Regions from separate parts of the Homo sapiens genome. Here region 1 is linked to region 2. Evidence: promoter capture Hi-C in 16 types of primary human blood cells and fetal thymus (Javierre and others, 2016). All regions are on one chromosome and are shown on one strand. Each heading gives the region's core, a stretch centred on a gene start or on the middle of the fragment in contact. The rest is flanking DNA. Distances are from core to core; before and after follow the strand shown.

Region 1 (2,700 bases), core at 53-2,552, 230 kb after region 2:
TACTTGTTTCTTTTAACTACTTAGTTTTAGATCATCTGCTTTCCTTGTCTTCACAACAGTATTTTAAGGATTATCCAGTTTGTCTCCCTGCTGCTGGAGTTCAGAGACTGAGAGATGGGGAGCTGGGAGATCCAAGGGCATGGACATGTTCTTTTTGTTTGTTTGTTTACACACGTTTGTTAATAAGGAAGAATGCACTGAATATATTCACAGTGTTTCACATCTGTGTGTGTAATCAATAGTGTACCCATGAAAGAACACACAGCTATAGCCTCCTATGCATTTATTCAAACAAAAAGAATGATTAATGATATTAAAGAATTCTTTGAATGACAGACCCTTGGCAGATTAAAAAAATAATTATTGTTAATTTTCAGGTATTGATACTAAGGTAATGCTTTTCTAAAAAAGTGTACTTATGTTTTAGAGATGCATTCTGAAATATTTACAGGAGAAATTATATGGTATCTGGGATTAGCTTTGAAGGAAAACAGGAAGAGGGCAGTGGGTACAGGTATAGATGAAATGAGATCGGCCAATGAGTTGATAAATGTTGAAGCATTAAATTCCAGAAGCCAGAAATGAACAAAATAAAGAACGTCGGAGGAAAACATTAATAAAGATAAAACCAGAAAAATTAATGAAGTATTAAAAACCCACCATAATAAAACAGTAGAGATGACCAACAAAGCCCAAAGCTACACTGGAAAAGATAAGTACAACAGATACACTTTGGAAAGGCTGAGGGAAAAAAGAGATGTTACCCCAAAGAAGAGGCCTCCTTTGTTCTGACATCTGGCAGGATCCCATCTAATGCCCGGGTCCTTGCCCACACTCGCTAAAGTTGCAACCTGTCAGTGGACATTCCCTGTCCCCATTCTGGGGAAATGCCTTTCAGGAAAACAGACCTACAAACACTGCAGCAGAGTAGTCCTCTGACAGCCCCCTACAATGGGCCTTCATTCTTGGGTATAAATAGCCAAATAAGGATTGCTAGACATTTGAGGAAAACCATCAGCATAAAAGAGAAGGACCAAGAAAAAAATAATTCAACCAGCCTCAGAATAAAGAGACATAACTCAGACAACAGAAGAAACTTAAGGCACTTCCTTTTTTGAGACAGGGTCTCCCTCTATCGCCCAGGCTGGAGTGCAGTGGCATGATCTTGTCTCACTGCAACCTCCGCCTCCTGGGTTCAAGCGATTCTCCTGCCTCAGCCTCCTGAGTAGCTGGGATTACAGGTGCGCACCATCACGTCTGGGTAATTTTTGTATTTTTAGTAGAGATGGGGTTTCACCATGTTGGCCAGACTGGTCTCGAACTCCTGGCCTCAAGTGATCCACTCACCTCGGCCTCCCAAAGTGCTGGGATTACAGGCATGAGCCACCGCACCCAGCCGGCACTTCTAATCCATACTCTATAAAAACAAGATCAGGTATGAGAGGACATAGAAACAGAGAGGAAGAAAGAGCTTTTGGAGTTTAACAGGATATCTAAATACATAATTCAACAGAAGGGCTTGAAGATAAAGTTGACAAAATCTCCCAGGTCACAGCAAAAGAAAAAAGAGACAGAAAACATAAGATAAAAAATAAGAAGCCTGGGCAACATGGTGAGACCCCATCTCTACAAAAGATTAAAAAATTAGCTGGGTATGCTGGTGTGCACCTGTGGTCCCAGCTACTCAGGAGGCTGAGGCATGAGGATTGCTTGAGCCCGGGAGGTCGAGGCTGCAGTGAGTCGTATTTGTGCCACTGTACTCCAGTCTGGGCAACAGAGCAAGACCTTGTCTCAAAAAAAATAAATAAATAAATAAATAAATAAATAATAAAAAAGAGAGAGACATAGAGGATCAACCCAGGAAGTCTAACATCTGACTAACAGAAGTCCTAGAAAGAGAACAGAGAAAACAAAGAAGAAATTATCAAAGATCTAATAGAAAATAATTTCCAAGAGTTTAAGAAAAGCATGAATCTTCAGATGTAAAATGTCTACCTACTATTAAACAGAGTGAAAAGGCCAGGGTAAAAGTTTAGAACATCAAGGCTAGGTACAGTGGCTCATGCCTGTAATCTCAGTGCTTTGAGAGGCTGCAGTGGGAGGACACTTGAGGTCAGGAGTTCGAGACCAGTCTGGGCAATATAGTGAGACCCTGTCTCTACAAATAATTTAAAAAATTAGCTGGGTGTGGTGGCACATGCCTGCAGTCCTAGCTACTTGGGAGGCTGAGGCAGGAGGATTGCTTGAGCCCAGGAGTTTGAGGTTACAGTGGGCTATGATCATGCTACTATACTCCAGCCTGGGTGACAGAGTGATACCCTGTCTAATAATTTAAAAAAAAAAAAAAAAGAACACCAAGATAACCTTGCAGAGAGGAAAGTAGATTACTTGGAAAGGAATGAAAAGCAGACACCTGTCAGGAACACTGAATGCTGCAAAATAATAAAGCAATGTCTAGAGAACAACCAACCTAAATTGGATTCTTCAGATCTTGGATAAGTGGATTCTCTGTAGTCAGCTAGGAAGAAGGCTAGATAAAACTACTACAGGTTGAGCATCCCTAATCTAGAAATCTGAAATCTGAAATGCTGTAAAATCCTAAACTTTTTTTTTTTTTTTAGATGGGGTCTCAGTCTATCACCCAGGCTGGAGTGCAGTGGTGCGATCTCAGCTCACTGCAACCTCTGCCTCCTGGGTTCA
Region 2 (2,700 bases), core at 190-2,689:
CCTGACCTCAGGTGATCCACCCGCCTCGGCCTCCCAAAGTGCTGGGATTACAGGCATGAGCCACCGCGCCCGGCCAGAAGTCATCTTTATTATGTAGAGGTTTCCCCCTTGTACGAGATGGTTGTGTGTGAGTATGGATGAGTTTACGAAAGCAACTGACAGACCTGTGAAATAATGATGCCAATACAGGAAGGTCCAAGGTAAATGAAAGCCCGGTGAAATTCCTGGAGGCGCAACTCAGGGTGGGGTCTTGGGATGTCAGGAAAGAGGAAGGGAAGGCTGTAGGTCTGGGTGTTTTGTGAGCTATTTGCACCTGAGGATATATGAGTGAGACCCTCCGCCTTGTGCGAGCCGGCTTGCATGCGTCTGGCATACAGAAGCGCTCAGTGAATGTTGAATAAGTGAACAAATGAGTGAATCAACTAATTTTGGGAAGCTTCTTGTATGCCAAACAACCTGCTAGCACTTTTCATACATTATCTTTAATCCTCAGAACAACCCTGCCAGACAGGTATTTTGACCCCCATTTAACAGGCCAGGAAAGCTGAGGCTGGGAGAGGGGAGGTCCCCTTCCCTATTCAAACCTGGATCTTTGTGATTCCAGAAGTCGTCATTCACCGAAGGGACCAGATTCATTCACCCGTCAAGAATTTATTAAGCACATATTGCGCAGCGCAATGAACATAGTACAACCGCTCTCGATGGCATGGAACAGGCGGAATACTCCCGGAAGACCAGCTGGGCGGCTGGACTGCGGACAGCGAAAGGGGGGGGTTTCTGGCCCGCACCTTCAGGGAATGTAGCTGCCTCTGCCTCATAGTTATGGCTTTGGCTGAGAGAGCACAGCCAGATCGAGGTTGGAGCGCGGTCTAGGGCTCAGATATTACAAATATTGGCCGAAAGAGGGCGCGGTTCCGCAGCTAAAAGCTTGGCCAGGAGACCCTCCGTGCGCCGACTGGCCATCGATGCGCAGGCGCAGAGGACCCAAGGAGCGGCTTAATATTACCTTGCAGAGGGATAATTTGAGAAGAGAGGGCGTGGCTCCGAAAGCGACGCAAACATAGAGGCGTGGTTCAACCAAATCAACCCTCGCCTATTTGTCGCTGCCCCTGAGGGCGTGGTCTGGGTGCTGCTTCTCGGAATGAGGGCGGGCCGAATCGCGTTTTTCCTCCGCGTCGGAGGCGTCGCTTAGGGTGGGCCCTCGAATCGCCGTTCAGCGATTGGCCGCCTCGCTAATGGGTCGTGGCCAGACGGGCCATCCATCCCCAGTGCGGTCACTTCCTGTGGAGTTTCCCCATCCCTGGGAGGAGGGAGGAGGGGGAAGAAGACGAGGGGGAGGAGGGCGGTCGTCCGGGGTTAGGTTGAGGGGGGGCGTCGGTCCGTTCTGGGCGGGGGATGACTCACAGCCCATCCCATCTCCCCGACGCCGCCCGCCCGCGCAGTGCTAGCTCCATGGCTTAGCGGAGGAGGCGGCGGTGGCGAGCTGGGGGGAGGGGGGACTCTTATTTTGTTAGGGGGACCGGGCCGAGGCCCGACCGGCCTGGCAGGGCTCGCCCGGGGCCGGGCGTCATGTCTCATGCGGCCGAACCAGCTCGGGATGGCGTAGAGGCCAGCGCGGAGGGCCCTCGAGCCGTGTTCGTGCTGTTGGAGGAGCGCAGGCCGGCCGACTCGGCTCAGCTGCTCAGGTGCGGGGCCGCCTGGGGCTGGGAGTGCCGACTGGGGCTCCCAGGGGCCTGATCTCGGGGGCAGTGGGGGCCCCGGACTGGGATTGGAGGCCCTCGGCCTAGCCTTGGAGGACGTCGGGGCGCCCGTCTTGGGGGGGCACCTAAGGAATCCGGCAGTGGCCTGCTTGGATTGTGGCTTTATTAAAGGAGTCGTGGGAGTGCATTAAGCGGGGTCTGGGTCAGGTTTGGGGAGCCCTTGACTGCGTCTAGAGGGGCCTATTCTGGAGTATCCAGAAACTGGTCTGAGATAGCTGAACTTGGTAGACAGGGTCTCTGATTAGAGGCTGAATTCGGGGATTTTCAGTCGGACATGAGGGGAATGAATTTGAGGGGACACTGTCAGGTGAGGCACTGGTTTTAAGGGAATCCTAGAATCTTTTTTCCCTCAGTGTGGGAGAAGGGGTCCTGAGGGACAGAAGTGCTGTCTTGGGAGCTTGGTGCCTCTCAGTGACTGGTTGCTGTGTTTGGGGATAACATGAATCTGGAGGGATTTGGAGGTATCTCAGATATGCTGCCTGGGACCAGCCTTGTGAGTGCGTGTGAATGAACAAGAGAAGCAACATTCAGCAAGACTTGACCAGAATAATCCTTTCCCCTCTGCCCGCCTACCCAGCTGGGGCAGATCCCAAGGATAGTGGAAAAGCCCTCTTCCCACACCTGTTAAGGGCCTGAATGGAAGATAGACAGCCAGGCAGAGGGCGATGATGTTACCTCTTAGCTCAGAGGCCTCAGACCTTGTTTGGGAACCCAGAGGAGGCTCTTGTTCATGCTGCTACTCGCTCTAGCCTCTCAGCCCTTCCCACTCCCTAGCCCCACACCCCTTTTCTTTTTATCTTCTTTTCGATCTCCGAGCTCCTGGGGGTAATCTTGAATCTGTCCATAGAGCTGGAACGAGTACAGATTGCACCATCCCTGCCTGGGTGGATCCCCTCTGGCCTCTTCTCATCCTTACTTTCATCAATGGGCTTTGGAGCCC

The links. The method cuts DNA at HindIII sites, captures the fragments that hold promoters and counts their contacts. A CHiCAGO score of 5 or more calls a contact.
Region 1: a contact is called between a fragment that was not itself captured here and the fragment with the promoter of TFE3 in region 2, in 1 of 17 cell types (activated CD4 T cells). The highest score is 5.1, in activated CD4 T cells.

What each region holds. Positions count from the first base shown.
Region 1 is chrX:48,809,720-48,812,419 of GRCh38, reverse strand. The region is part of intron 10 of HDAC6 (histone deacetylase 6); the gene reads right to left. Among named protein-coding and RNA genes, the nearest start is that of HDAC6, 9.0 kb to the right of the region's middle. The HindIII fragment of the contact is 7,978 bases long and covers 1-2,700 here.
Region 2 is chrX:49,042,096-49,044,795 of GRCh38, reverse strand. TFE3 (transcription factor binding to IGHM enhancer 3) reads left to right here and starts at 1,439. Exons shown (of 10, transcript NM_006521.6): 1 at 1,439-1,685. The coding sequence starts at 1,570. RefSeq lists a silencer at 1,469-1,708 and an enhancer at 1,250-2,113. The HindIII fragment of the contact is 3,845 bases long and covers 930-2,700 here.